3 separate regions of the Homo sapiens genome follow, and all the other regions are linked to region 1. The links are contacts of gene promoters, found by promoter capture Hi-C in blood cells and fetal thymus (Javierre and others, 2016). All regions are on one chromosome and are shown on one strand. Each heading gives the region's core, a stretch centred on a gene start or on the middle of the fragment in contact. The rest is flanking DNA. Distances are from core to core; before and after follow the strand shown.

What was found. The method cuts DNA at HindIII sites, captures the fragments that hold promoters and counts their contacts. A CHiCAGO score of 5 or more calls a contact.
Region 2: the fragment with the promoter of RAB33A here is called in contact with the fragment with the promoter of INTS6L in region 1 in 1 of 17 cell types (M0 macrophages); the score reaches 10.1 in M0 macrophages.
Region 3: the fragment with the promoter of ZNF280C here is called in contact with the fragment with the promoter of INTS6L in region 1 in 1 of 17 cell types (naive CD4 T cells); the score reaches 5.3 in naive CD4 T cells.

Annotation. Positions count from the first base shown.
Region 1 is chrX:135,518,253-135,523,275 of GRCh38, reverse strand. It overlaps INTS6L (integrator complex subunit 6 like), which reads right to left and starts at 2,616. Exons shown (of 18, transcript NM_001351601.3): 1 at 2,173-2,616; 2 at 1,958-2,035. The coding sequence starts at 2,283. It overlaps INTS6L-AS1 (INTS6L antisense RNA 1), which reads left to right and starts at 2,602. Exons shown (of 2, transcript NR_046740.1): 1 at 2,602-2,709; 2 at 2,904-3,193. RefSeq lists silencers at 1,513-1,712, 1,773-2,042 and enhancers at 2,293-2,352, 2,383-2,462. The HindIII fragment of the contact is 2,771 bases long and covers 406-3,176 here.
Region 2 is chrX:130,169,995-130,175,017 of GRCh38, reverse strand. RAB33A (RAB33A, member RAS oncogene family) reads right to left here and starts at 3,056. Exons shown (of 2, transcript NM_004794.3): 1 at 2,698-3,056. The coding sequence starts at 2,955. RefSeq lists enhancers at 2,519-3,473, 4,283-4,332 and silencers at 3,593-3,672, 3,843-3,902. The HindIII fragment of the contact is 5,739 bases long and covers 1-4,397 here.
Region 3 is chrX:130,266,380-130,271,402 of GRCh38, reverse strand. It overlaps ZNF280C (zinc finger protein 280C), which reads left to right and starts at 2,504. Exons shown (of 19, transcript NM_017666.5): 1 at 2,504-2,641. RefSeq lists a silencer at 2,724-2,803. The HindIII fragment of the contact is 6,334 bases long and covers 972-5,023 here.

The DNA.
Region 1 (5,023 bases), core at 1,367-3,866:
CGCCCGCCACCACATCCGGCCGTTTTTTTTTTTGTTTTGTTTTTTTGTATTTTAGTAAAGACGGGGTTTCACCATGTTGCCCAGGCTGGTCTCAAACTCCTGAGCTCAGGCAATCCGCCCATCTCGACCTCCCAAAGTGCTAGGATTACAGGCCTGAGCCACCGCACCCGGCCAATAAGTTGTTCCTTTAAGGAAAAGAAGGCACACTGCTTTGTGGTTTATCTTTTTTACTACTTCGAATTAAGGAGCATGTCTTCAAATGGCCACACTACAAATGGTCGGTTCTTATCTGTATTAGCAGTCGAAGAGTGTAGACATTCAGACCTAGGATGTATAAACATCTCCTTTTCTATGTGGAAAAAAATGATCACATCCTTTTGGGAAAACTGACATTTTTAAAAAGCTTACGGCATTTTGAAAGATGTCTACTTGTTCCACTTTTCTAAATGGATAGAATCACAAACTGAAAACAAATTATCGAAAAAAGAACAGTTTTAAGGGGAACCTACTAATTAAACAGTTAACCGAAGCTACGAGTTACAAAATTAGTTTCTCTTTGGTTTCCTTATGCTTGAAGGAACACTCTTTGGCCAACTATTCAGCTTGGTAGGTTCCATTCATTAAAACACCTCACTCTACAGAAACGGATCACAACACATCCAGACTGCGTCTCCCTAGCACTATTACGATTATTCTGAGGAAAAAAGAAAAAGCCTAACAAAAGACGTCAAGGATTGTGGTAGTATTTTTAAAATTTCAATATGCAAGCAGGACTCTTATGCAGGTTGATTTAACAGTTTAAATTCCATTTTATCTGGCCACTGCAGGCAAAGCAGCAGTTCTTTATCTCCTCACCATAGGAACATAAATTACCCCACAGAGACCGTCCTCCCTACTTTTCTCCTGTAGGTCAGAATCAAATCATCGAACTTGACTATTACAAATGCTCACATTTGAGTCCTCCCCTTCCTTTCTTTCTTGTCCCTGGATTAATTCCTACGTGGCTAGCACAAACCTAATTTATGATGTAAATAGGTAGAGCGGATCCCTAAAAAGCTCTGCCCCTGTGGGTTCGCACTTGGCACGTCCCCCTCCGTGTCGTTGCTTCGCTGGAATTTCCAATGAAACAGTAACAGTAGCTAAGGTAACTGAGAGCGGGGCTGAACCTGGCCAATTCCGGAGCAGAAACGCAAAGACTTTCTCCGGGTCTGGGGGTGGGGAGACTGGCGTCGCGGACAGATTTCCGATTGCGCGGGGGTGGTGAGAGGCCAACGAGTGCAAAGGCGGTTGTCTAGTCTTTGAAGGCCGGCGGCTGGCTCTGCCACGCTCTCAGCAGGAAGGGGAGGGGACCAGGAGGAAGAGGGGGAGAAGGAGGAGATGCAGCGAAGAGCCCAAGGAGGGGGAGGAAGACCGGGGGAGGAAGGAGGGGCCAGAGGAGGAGCCCAGGCTCCGGGAAAGCCCGCGCGCCCGGCCGGCAGGACCTCGGGGCGGAGTCGCAGGCTCCGTCCGGCCCCCCGCGCGGCGACCCTCGCGCGGTGCGCCTCGAAGGGGCGGGCCCGCCTCGCAGCCTCCCTCCGGGTTTCGGGCCCTCCTTCCCCGCTCCTCCCTCCCCTCCCTCCTTTCCATCTCAGCAGCGCCCTCAGTCTCCCTCTCGCAGGCTCATACAAAAGCAAAATGTCCGCCATGTTCCGAGGCGGCTGCGGTTGTCGCGCCACGAGCTCGGCCCTCCTGCGGTTTCTCCCCGGGGCTGCTCCTCCCCGGTCCCCTCTCCCCGACCCCAGGCGCGACAGCTACTCCGAAGCCGCCGACGGCACCACTCCGCCCGCCCTCTGCGCACCCCCTCGCCGCCCGCCCCGCCGGGCGACGCAGGACCGCCTTAGGCGGGGGCAGGGGGGTAAGCAGCCCCCGCCGACTTGCTCCCGCTTCCCGCCTGTCCCCCCACCCGTAGCCCCTTTACCTTGATGCAGTACGGGGGTTCGTCGTAGGTGACCAGCATGTACCTGTCTCCACGGCTGGCCGGGTCCCGGGCGCGCAGCTGCGGGGCAAGGGATGACGGAGGGGGTCGCGTAGGAAAGGAGGGGGGAGGGCGATACAAACGTTACAGAAGCACCTCAATCCACACCCTGAAATCCCTCGGGAGCTCTCCCCATCTCTCCCCTCCCCTCCCTTTACCTTCAAGAATAACTCCACAGCGCCTTTGGCAATGTCCAAATAAGAGGTGCCCAGGTCAGTGCGCTGGTTCATAGAGGCGGACGTGTCTATGAGGAACAGCAGGATGGGCATCTTCCCCCGCACTCCTGCCTCCGCTCCCCACTCTCCCGGCCCTCTTGCCCTCACTGCCGCGTACGGCCACCTGAACCCTCAACTCTCGCAGAGCCGGGGAGCAAGGAGCAAGAGGAAGAGGGGGAGACGGGACGGGACGGGACGGATGGGACCGCTCCTGGCCTCCTCTTTCTGCAGCCCCACCTCCTCTCCCTCCAAGGGAACTTGAAAGTGTGAGCGTGTGTAGCCCTCGGGGCCCTCCCCCTTCCTCTCTTCTGCTGCCACCACTACTGCCGCTGCCAGGACTACTGCCTAAGCATCCGTCCGCGCTCACTAGAGCGCTCGCCCCAGACTGAGCGCCGTCTCTGTTCACTGACAACTTCTGTCTGCTCACCTACCATCGGCACCATGTGACCAGAACCCATGCCATTGGCTGCCAATTATGTGGTATTTGCATATTCATTAGATGACAGGACTAGGGGAGGGACTTGGGCGAACCCTGGGAGTTGAAGTTTGAACCCAGGCAGAGGGTAAGGGGAAGTGTTACGGACCCTCGCTAGGATTCTCCTTTAAAGGACTTGGAAGCAGTTCGAATGATTAGTTCGGGTGGTTTAAATGGATTTTTCTGTCTCTCTTCAAAGATGGTGATTCGAAAAGAAGAGTGAATTTGAGCAACAGTTGTACAGAAGTACAGAAGCAGATGCTTGGACAGTTTGCACAGAAAATTCTTCGCTAACTGCAATCGATCAATCCTGCCAGTGGCGAAGACGAAAATATTTCAGAAGCAGCAAACTTCTTTCCTGGCAGGACGTACTCACATTCCTTTAGATCCCTCCCCCGTCTTGATCAGTATTTGTGAGTTGGTTGCTGGCCTTGCATTCCACATATATCTACTTAGAAAGGAAACTAAAGCTTAAACACAGTTACAGTTACCTAAACTGGCCTTTTGTATGCACAAGCTTCTTCAGTTTCACTAAGCTCTTTGAAACATTGGCCTGCCTGTGATAATTCCACCACTGTTCCCTCTGCGCAGCCTTTACACATGGAGGTTTGCAAACCTAGATTGTGATTCAACTCACATATTTATTTATTTATTTATTTTTATAAATAAATAAAGAGGATCTCGCTTGATCGCCCAGGCTGGAGTGCAGTGGCCCCATCATAGCTGCCTGCAGCGTCCAGCTCCTGGGCTTAAGCGATCCTCCCATCTCAGCCTCTCAAGTAGCTGGGACCACAGGGGCAGGCTCTCAACTCACATTTATTGAGTGCCTATGAAGAGCCAGGCACCCACGGTAGCCTTGTTTAATCTTTGAATTAATTATGGCAGATGGCATTGTATTCAATTTTCAGTAGAGGAAAATGCAGCTCCCTGAGGTTAGGGTAACAATTACGGATACTCTCAGGTCTGGCTCTGTGAAGAGACTCAGTAAGTGGCCAACCACACTTGATTGACTACTTCATATGACACAATTTTAAAAATTGGACTTGTGTATTCCTGGCAATTACTATTGACAATGTGGAATCCAGGACTTCAATGAGTTTGCAGTTTCATTGAGGAGAGATGATGACATATACATACATAATATTTTATATATTTTGGCCAGGCGCAGTGGCTCATGCCTGTAATTCCAGCACTTTGGGAGGCCGAGGTGGGTGGATCATTTGAGGGCAGGAGTTTGAGACCAGCCTGGCCAACATGGTGAAACCCCCGTCTCTACTAAAAATACAAAAATTAGCCGGGCATGGGAGCAGGCGCCTGTAGTCCCAGCTACTTGGGAGGCTGAGGCAGGAGAATCACTTCAACCCAGGAGACGGAGGTTGCAGTGAACTGAGATCACACCACTGCACTCCAGCCTGGGCAACAGAATGAGATAACATCTCAAAAAAGTATTTTATATATTTTATATACACTCTCTCTCTCTCTCTCTCTCTCTATATATATATGTATGTTCTGTGTATATGTTTCATATATTATATATGCACATTCAATAACATTCTCAGAGAAATACGATTTTAAAAGAAGTCATATGGCAGTATATGAATCAGGGACAAACAAGGATGCAAGTTAAAAAGTGCTATGGAAACAATGGTCCAGTCTAGAAATTCATAGGATTTCACGAACAAGGCACAAAAAGGGAAGAGAGGGAATCTGGGTTGGAAGGAATGATATGAACAAAAACTCAGCCAAAGATAGTACTATGTATGGTGCATTTCAGGCCATTCTGGTGGAAAGTAGGGAATTAATGAAGAAATAAGGATGAAAAAGATACTAGAAGCCCCCATTTCCATTCCGATACAAATGTCAGTGTAGAAGGGCAATGCCTACATGGGCTAGGGTACAAAAAATATAGGACTGTTGGGGGCAGTGTGTTAGTTTTCTACTGCTGTTTAACAAATTATTACAAATTTAGTGGCTTAAAACAACACAAGCATTTACTATCTCACAGTTTCCATGAGTCAGAGGTCTAAGTTTACCTGGGTTCTCTACTTAGTCTCATAAGTCTGCAGTCAACGTGTCAGCCAGGCTGTTTTCATCTGGAGGTTCACCTGGGAAAGAACTGGCTTCCAGGCTCATTCAGATTTCTGGCAGAATTCATTTCCTTGGGGCTGTTGCTGGTGACCAGAGGCCACCTTCAGGTCCACCTTCTGTTGCAGGTCTCTGCCATATGGCTTTCTCCATTGGCTGTTCACAACATAGCTGCTACTTCAGGGCCAGCAGAGAAATCTCTTACTCCAAGATGGAGCCTTATGTAATGTAGAT
Region 2 (5,023 bases), core at 1,807-4,306, 5.3 Mb after region 1:
GTTATTATTATTATTATTATTGCCTACTCATTGGAGGCTTTTCTTGATGTTCATACAATTGAGTTCATCAGGACTCAATTGTAAATGCTTTGATGGGGTGAGGGTGGGGAACATAATGATTGGAGACAGCAAATGGGGCTTCAATACCCTAGGGATGGCCTTGATAATTAATTACAGTGTGGCTCTAACTACACCAAATCAGTTGTCCCTAGCAGGGGTTCATGTATGTGCTACCCCGGGACACAGGCAGGCAGCCCAGAAGAGGCCACACCCTTGCTCTTAGACTGAGAAGAGCTGGCTGAGACCTCTCTACCACTCTCCTCCAAGGGCTGGTATGTTACAGCCCAAAAGCCTTCTATTGCTGGCCATGGTCTAGGCCAGACCTCGGACTGTCACACTGGACTTTTCTCTCTCTCGCAAAGGACGAAGCCCTTGGCAGTCATCTCCAAGCATGGCTTTGGCATGTATTCCTTGAACAACTTCAGGCTAGCCAGAGTGCGAGGCCAAATCTTCTCTTATCTAGATCACGTGCTAGCCGCCAGGCTCTGCCATCTTCCCACAGACATGCTGGTCTCTCGCCTGCCAGCATGGTCCTGAGATTGCAGCAGCTTTACAAGAAGCAGGGTCACCATCTCCCCACTCCCACACGCCACTCTGAGCTCCTTTGGAATCTGCCCTCAGAGGACTCCTCCATGAGCAGTGTCACAAGGCTTTGTCCCCTTGAAAATATCATCTTCCCCAAAAAAGCCTGTATTAAGCACTTATCTGCACGTGGTGTTGTGCTGAGCTCTGTTTCTAGTGAGTCACACTGTCACAGGCTCTGCCCTCTGGGAAAAAGTCTGGAATCTTTGCCAGAGACTGTAAAGTCCAGTTTGGCTAAGTACTGGGGTGTTAGAAGAGAAGGAATAGTTTAAAAATTCCTTCAAGGCCACTGGGTGGTGACTCTTCCACTCGTGTTCATCTGTCATCCCTCACTTTCTAGCTTCTTCCTCCCTCCTTCTTTAGATTCCCAAACACTTCATTTTTTCCATCTAAATTTCAGATGGACTTATTTCCCACCTTTTAAATCCAGGGAACTCTTTGGCTCACTGTAGCACTTGATTTTAAGCAAATGGGAGCATTAGGTTTTTGAGGTTTAAGAGCCCATCTGTAAAGATATTTCTACTTTGGATTACAAAGTCATGTTTTAGAAATTCTAGAATCTTATAGCCTTACATTAAAGAAGCTAGACACACTAGAGGAAGTCTTAACCAAGCAAATGTCAACAGCCCCAGGAAAGGACAGAGACAGATACCGCCTTTGACTTTAAAAGGAAATGTAGCACTTCCCTTCCAAAATGCAAGGGGCAAAAAAGATCACGATTTCAAAATAATGTTCTATCTTCCTACCCTGGGGCTCTCCCTTATCAGTACTGAGCTGTCCATCTTCCTGACATCTAGTGAGTTGGCCTAGTTTCTGAAGCCATTTTTAGAACACGTTCATTTTAATAATCAAGGAGTCAGGAGTCTCGCACAGTTTCAAGTGTTTCATCAGTTTCATCAGTTACTCAGCCCTTCTCTCCACGTCACTCAGAGGAGGGGCCTTGTGGTCACTTTGGCAGTTTGACCAGCAAGAAGGAGGCTTACTGTCACCCCTGACTCTGTCTAAGGTCCAACCATACGCTCAAGGAAAGGCCAGCTGTGAGCCTAGAGGAGTTGTCTTCAGTGATCCCAGTGCCTTTATAGAGGCCCCCCTCTGCTCCCCATGACACAAGAAGTTGCCCTTGTTATGTCCTCCCTCCCGCCATCCCCTGCACATTGACATATTCCTGTCATATCAGGTTTCTACCTTTTCTGAATTAAAGGTGAGCACAAATGGTCAGACAAGAATATTTGCACTTAGCCTATTACATAAACTCATGGAGGGGGAGGATTGAACATTCCCCTGGCCCTCGGTTAAGTCACTGCATTTTTACAAAGACCTGAAGACAATACCAACAGAATGAATAAGGAGCAGTTCATGTATTAGATGCCCCAGACAAGTAAAGAAGATATCATTCCAGGGGGGCTGTTACAAAAAAACAAGTTTTGTCTATTACGAAGGGCTGGACCCTGCCTCAATTTCTTTAAAAGGGCTCATGGCTTTCTGCCAGAACCACCCCACTCCACCGCCATCTCAACTCAGCCCTAATTTTTTAACTATAAACTGCAATTTAAAATAAAGCAGCTTTTTCATTCTCCATGGATTTCCATCATTTCCTTCCCTCTAACGCCTTGAGGCTTAGCCAAAGTGGGGTTTTGCAGCCTATCGGCACCCAAGCAGTAGAAGAGACATCAGGATGTGTAAAGTGCTTTGGGATCCATCCCAGAGACTAGGACCCACAGATGCCTCCTGCCTCCCTCTGCCCACAGGTGCCGCTGCTCGGGGTAGGGGTCATGGATGGGAATCCAACATGCTTTTCCTGGCAGGACCTGTCAGGCAGGGGCTAAGGGTAAGAATGCAACCCCATTCTCAACCGCCCTAAAAAACTGAGTGAAGTGGGGACGGGGCCCCGCTGAGAGAGGTGAAAAGGGGTGAGGAGGAGCCGAGGGTCCTCGGCTCAGCAAGAGGCGAAACCGCCACGCGCTGGACGCTGGACGACGACAACCGCTAGAGCTATGCCTCGGGCGAGGTCCCCTCCCGGGTCCCACCCTTCCTGGACCTGACCCCCTGGATCACCTTGATCTTCTCGCCCTCGATTTCCACGGTCTTCTCCCTGAAGTCCACGCCGATGGTGGCTTCAGTCTTGTCTGGGAAGGTACCCCCGCAGAAGCGGAAGGTCAGGCAGGTCTTGCCCACGTTGGAGTCCCCAATCACGATTATTTTGAAGATGCGAATCTGCACGTACTGGTCCAGCGACGAGTCGAGCTCCAGGGACGCCAGGCCAGCGGCCGAGGCGGGCTGCAGGCTCCCATGGCCCAGGATGGGCTGCGCCATCTCCCCCGGACCGAACCGGGGCCCCAACCCCCCTTGAGGGCTCCACACAAAGAGAACGTCCACGTTCGTGCGCTCGAGGCGAGCGAGCTCTGTGCGTGTGTGTGTGCGCGCGTGTGTGTGTGTCCGCCCGTGTGTGCGTGCGCCGGCACCGTGTGCGCGCGCGCGCGTGAAGGGGGTGCCTCTCACTCCGGGCCCCCCTCCTCCTCCTCCAGCGCACCCTCCTTGCAGCTCGGAGGCACCAACACAAAAGCCAGGGAGAGGAGGAGAGAGGGAGGAGAGTGGACGAGCCGCGAGCCTTCTGCCTGTGTGCGCCCTCGGACCGGATGCTCTGGCGAAGGACCCTACCGCGCTGCTCCAGCCGCCGCCGCGCCTCGGCCCACACCCTCCCCTGCCTGCATTCCCGGGACGGACCCGAGGGAAGAAGCCTCAGGAGGAAAGAGACGGGGTGGGGACAGCGGCACACGCCACCCCGGGATAGACTTCTTTCTCCTTGCCCCCGTTTATGTTATAGGTTTCGGGCTCCCCACCCCCACTGGCTCGAGCGCACGGGGTCAGCGGGCAGGGAGCACAGCTGGGGAGGACAAAGAGCTGCACCTTAAGACATCACTGGATCACTTCGGCCTCCCTGGAGCAACGCAACTCTGCGGGGATGGGGTGGGGGCGGAGGCACCTCTTTCACCTCGGGAGCAGCGGGCAGCTGAGCCGCGCCTTCCCGGTCCCCGCTACCCCGTCCCCTCTACCCCCACCCTCTACCCGACCCGCGCCTTGGGATAAAGGGATGCTCTGTCTTAATGAGTGAGCAGGTGCACTCGCGGGCCCCAGGCAGCCTGGGAGGCCGCTGCCAAGACACGCAGTGGGTTGTCCGGGGCCTGTACAGCTGAGAGGAGGGAGCCAGCGGGCACGCGTGTGCGTGTGTAGGGGGTGTAACTGTTTCTGTTACAGACTTGCCAGATGTAGGGGGGCGCGTACCAGGCGCCAACATCCCCTTATCACACCACGCGCACCCATCCTCTGAATGTTCAGGAGAGCGGCTCCTATTGGCTGCCGCAGTCGGTTGTGTTTGGCTGGCCAATGGGGAAGGCCCGCCGCGGGAGAGGGCCACACAGAGGCTAGGAGAAGGGGGGGAAGCTAGTGGTGGCAGTTCCAGCAAAAGGGGACTTTGTTTACGGGGCTAGCCATTACTGGCCCAGGTGGAGGATCTTGGGACAATGGCATAAGCTCCACAGTGCCTTCCATTCCCAAGCCCTCCATATAACCATAAGTCCCTCCAGAACGCTGGAGTTTCAGAGGGAGTTGGGAATCCCTAGGAGGGTTCACCTCCCCCTGCAGCTGAATGTAGAACAAAGTGGTTGGGTCTAATTTGCCAGAAGCCTAGATTATGCTTGGAAGATGATAAATGAACACAACCTCCTTACAGTATTAGGGGGCTGCTGCCCAAAGCTTACTAATCATCACACACATCTTGGTCAAGACCAGTATTCCTTCTCCCTAAAGTCATTCGCGGGTTCAGAATTTGTTTGAAATCGACTTTACTGGGGGTACAATTTACATACGATAAAGTGCACCCATTTGTTTCTTTTAAGACTTTACCTCTCCCCCTACATATTTCATAAGCTAAGGTAACACTGACACATGTCACTAGCACTGACTCGTGAGTTATTGCTAATGCCATCAAGGTCAGGGATTCAAACAGCACAGTTGAGCTGCCATCTTATTTGGGAGGTTGAGCTGCAGGAAGAGACAAACATGACCAAATCCATTTCTGCTGAGAGAAAAACAATTCAGTGCATCAGTGATATACCTGAAAGCAAATTGGAATGTGACTACTCAAGGACGTCCAAGTTACTCAGAATGGCATCTTCCAGTTAATAAGTTTATTAGCTGAGCTAGCAGATATATTTACAGCTAACCCTTTTATCATATATGTGGGTCGCCCATTTCTAAAACCCTACATTATACTACTCAGCATTAAAACTACCCAGATAAGGATTTCCTCTTAGTTGGCTAATCCAAAATCATCCTTATGAATACCAATTTTCATTGTATTATGTATCAATCATCATTGTAC
Region 3 (5,023 bases), core at 1,255-3,754, 5.3 Mb after region 1:
CACTCTATTGTACACTTCAAAATGGTAGATTTTTTTCATGTAAATTTGTCTCAATTTTTAAAATTGTCAGAAAAACCTATACAGGAGTAAGCCCTCATTTACTGGAAGTGCTGAAAAATAAAAAAGAACGTACGGCCAGCCAGTCAAGAGAACCAATATAGAGTGGTTTTCTAGAAGCCTGGGGAAGAGTTTTAAGAACAGTTAAAAATCACCCAAACAATTTCCCATGTGTTAATTCCATTCTCACCAGACATCCTTTTAATTATTGTTATTATTTAGTTTCTCAAATTTTCATCTTGATAGAAAATTTGCTGACCAGAGTCTGCAAACAGTCAACTGACCAGAGCCCGCTGGTCTTCTTGGCTGTATTTTTCACGAAAAAAAGAATAAGTTAGATTGAAATTTGGGTGTATAAGTGTTTTCTGGTCATCCTGCTGAGGCAGTTTGACCATTCCTCCTCGTAATTTTAGGTTGGATGTGGACACTCGTGACACTAGATATGACAAGAGAATTTGAGAGAAATTTTATTACCCTGGGGACTAGTGGGGGTAAGTGAGGGAGGGCTGGGTGCTGCAAACAGGTCTGGGCTGGTTTCAGAGGCAGAGGAAGTTGGATGGGCCTTTATAGCATCTAGGAAGTGGGGCTGGTGAAAATGCCGCACAGGCTGTAGATTTGCAAGTTTTAAATTTCTCAACTGCACCAATTTTTGTTGCCAGTTTTAAATTTCCCACCAATGCCAAAGAAGGAGGCAGGCTGGAGAATCACAAGTTTTAAATTTCCCACTACAGCCAAAAGCAGAGTCATGCGGCTGTAGATTTGCTAGTTTTAAATTTCCTGCTGGCATCAAAGGAAAAGGTGCCCGGACTTTCTTATCACCCTGACCGGAAGCAGGGACCAACTATGCATGCTCCAAGATTTTGGGACTTTTCACTGTTTTATTTTGATTATTCTCTGTCTTTTCCTGTAAAGCTTATTTTCAGGGTCAGAAGCAAATAGCTGTATAAATAAGAAAGAAAAAACTAGCTCAAATAAAAAAAATGGTAGGATTCAGTGACAGGATTTACGTGTGTGTTATGTAAGCCACACGATATTTTCAGTCTGGGCAACTCTTAAGAGATGAATTGGGCCAGGCGTGGTGGCTCACGCTTGTAATCCCAGCACTTTGGGAGGCCGAGGCAGGCAGATCACCTGAGGTGGGGAGTTCGAGACCAGCCTGACCAACATGGAGAAACCCCGTCTCTACTAAAAATACAAAATTAGTCGGGTGTGGTGGCGCATGCCTGTAATCCCAGCTACTCGGGAGGCTGAGGCAGGAGAGTCACTTGAACCCGGGAAGCGGAGGTTGCGGTGAGCCAAGATCACGCCATTGGACTCCTGCCTGGGCAACAAGAGCGAAACTCCGTCTCAAAAAAGAAAAAGAGAGATGAACCAGTACTGCTATAAACCTTGTGGAGAAATTTGGGAGAAGAAACTTTTACAGTTCAAAGCACAATGTCTAGAAAATGTTTCTGTAAGCAGTATTTTGGCAAGTGTTTTTCTTGTAAATGTATTTACAAGTTCCAGTGATTCTCCCGCCTCAGCCTCCCAAGTAGCTGGGATTACAGGCATGTGCCACCACACCCTGCTAATTTTGTATTTTTAGTAAAGATGGGGTTTCACTATGTTGGTCAGGCTGACTGGGGTTCAGAGAAGGAGGAGGAGAAAGGCGAGGAGGAAAGGGAAGTGGTCTCAAACTCCTCACCCCAGGTGATCCACCCACCTCAGCCTCCCAAAGTGCTGGAATTAGAAGTGTGAGCCACCGCGGCCAGCCCACGGACGGACGGCTGGTACTTACATGTGCACAAGTGCAGCTACTTTACTTACCGTCGAAGGCAGCGGAGGAAGTGTAATTGACTAGCGTGGATGCAGCTTTTCTAAGCAAACGCTCGATTTAACCTGGAGTTGTCATCCCACAAAATACATTGTACCTGACTACAGAGAAACATGAATTCTGGGTCTTCCTTGTGTGTAAGAGTAAATGTATTTTTCCTTAGCATTTTTTGTACCTACTATAGGCATCCATATGGCAATTAGAAGTAACAGAGAGACAAGCAAAACCATATGTTTAAAACAAAAGGTAAAAATAACTAGTATTTTGAGACGTGTTTCAAGTACAGTATTTCCAGAAAACAATATATTTATATTTTTAACTCGTGTCTTTAGCCCTCACACACAAGGAAGACCCAGAATTCATGTTTCTCTGTAGTCAGGTACAATGTATTTTTTGGGATGACAACTCCAGGTTAAATCGAGCGTTTGCTTAGAAAAGCTGCATCCACGCTAGTCAATTACACTTCCTCCGCTGCCTTCGACGGTAAGTAAAGTAGCTGCACATGTGCACATGTAAGTACCAGCCGTCCGTCCGTGGGCGGTTAAAAGGCCCCGGATGTTCAGGGGGTGGAGTCGGCGTCTACCCATGAGGCAGCGCGTGCAGTTATATACTTCTGCCCCCGGCTGAGACGCCGGTTCCGCGCTGGAAGTCTCCGGGGGAGTCGCTGTTGCTGAGGCTGTCGCCTGAGGTTTTTCGCGCTCCTCCCTTTCCTCCTCCTCTTTCTCCTCCTCCTTATCCGAACCCCAGTCAGACCGATCTGCTCTGCTCTCGGTAAGCGGCCCCCGCCCCCGCCTGTGCCGCGCGGAAGGAGGCAGCAGCTCTCCCGCGCGGCCGAGGCAGCCTTCCCCAGAGGGCGGTTCTGAGGGCGGCTGGCTGAGGGTCTCTATGCCGGTGCGGATCGACGGGGGTGCGGGGGAGGGGACAGGCTTGGCGGCGTGGTAGCTGGTGGGCCACCATCTTGCGCCGGGCCCTGAAGGGGGAGGGTTTTCTGGAGGTAGAGCCTGGCGGCCCGCGGCGGGCAGTGGTTTCGCGGGCCGCGGCAGCTGCGGCAGCCTTCTCACCTCCTGAGTCCTGTCGGTCTGTTTCCAACCCGGTTTGGGCTTTTCATTCTGGAGGCAACTCCCTTTCGTCTTTTGTACGGTTGATACTGATGTTTGACGGAGACCCGCCCACCCTCAAGTCTCTTCAATCAAACGAAAAGAGACTTGAGGGGATTCCGAACTTTCAGGCATCAGAGACCCTGTGACCCCTTCTTTCTGCGCAGGTTCCCCCCACACAGGACCGGTCATTCCATGCCCACAACCTTGTTCTGGCCAAAGGGACTTCCCTTCTCTGTCACAGAAATCGTGCTCTATTCCGTTATTGTCTAGAGGATAAGAGCCCTGAGGAGAAACGTGGAGTTAAATACACTATATTCTAACTAGGAGGTTTGCAGGTTTTACTTAAAGAGATGGAAAAAATTATGCTGAGGTATACTCCTGCTCTAGAGATGGAGGGAGTTCCTTTCAACTTCTCTCAGGTTTTAATGCTTTTTTAAGGAGAAATTCGAGAGGAAATTGTCAAGTGAACCAGCTTCTGCAAGCACGGGAGACCTTCATCCAGGGGATTCTCTTTGTTTGGAAAGATTTGTTAGTTTTGTGGAGTTTTTTAAATCTGCGACCTTAAATTTTTTTTACTATTGTTTTCAGGTTTGGACTATGAGTTGTAATGTCTTTTAGTGCCCCTAAACATAAAATAGAAACCTAGAAGTAGAGTTTTAAACTGCAAAAGTCTCCTCTTAGTATTTGTGAGGTGTCCTGGTTTGGGGGTTACTGTGCAAACTTAATCTCCTTACGCAGAAACTTCACTGAGCCTACAAAGGCACTGATTTGCTTGTAAAATTAGGGCTGTGTACCTTTGATGTTTCTACAGCAGTACAGATTCCATTATAATCGTATCTTGCATTTGTATATTTCATTGGTAGCACCCCTTTTGAGATGGGCTGTAGGGTGTCGTTAGAACTGTTTGAAGATGAGGAAACAGCCTCAAGGACAGAACTTTACCGAGGTCATGTGCCTAGGAAGTGATGGAACCAATTCTTAAACCTAGGCTTTCTGACCCTCATCCAATGTTCAATTTGGTATATTATGTCTCACTTTTTGTGAGAGTGAGGTGGTCACGGAGAATAAGCAAGGAGGCTCACTTAAAAGTTTTAAGAAGTATTATTCAATTCCTTTTTCCTTTATATTTTTATTTTTAAGGCTTCATTTTTTTTCGACTTTTTCATACTTTAATATTATTTCTAAGCATGTTGAAGAGTTGAAGAATATCCTATTGAAAAAGTTCTTAGGTTGAATAACTCCAAATCTCAGCTACTTGGTTTTCAGTGAGTTTGTCTTAAGTAGTGATTCAAAAAGATTTGATTTCCTCAGTAATTTTTTTTTTTTTTTTTTGAGACGGAGTCTCGCAATGTCGCCCGGGCTGGAGTGCAGTGGCGCGATCTCAGCTCACTGCAACCTCTGCCTCCCGGGTTCAACCGATTCTGCTACCTCAGCCTCCTAAGCAGCTGGGGTTACAGGCCCTTGCCACCACGCCCGGCTAATTTTTGTAATTTTAGTAGAGATGGGGTTTCACTATGTTGGCCAGGCTGGTCTGGAACGCCTGACCTCGTGATCCACCCACCTCGGCCTCCCAAAGTGCTGGGATTACAGGAGTGAGCCTCCATGCCCAGCCTTCCTCAGTAATTTGAATCAAATATATACGTCTAGACTTTTTTTCCCAGTGCTCTGTACATTCAGAGAAACATCACTAGTAATGAACTGTAGAAATGACTCCTGAAAGTAGAGTATTCGTCTAGACTTTATTCATTTGCTGCAAAGTAGTTTTCTTTTAAGGAGTTTTTTTTTTCATTTTTTTGTTTCCTTTTTAACTTTTTATTGGCAAATGATAATTGTGCGTATTTATGGGGTACAATGTGATGTTTTGATATGTATACATTATTGAAAGAGGCTAACATAGCCATCACCTTACCAATTTATCATTTTGTTATGAGAATGTTAGAAATTATTTTAGCAATTTTGAAATATACAATACATTATTAGTATTAGCTGTGGTCACCTTGTAGTGCAATAGATAACTAAAACTTATTCCTCCCATCTAATTAAACTTCGTACT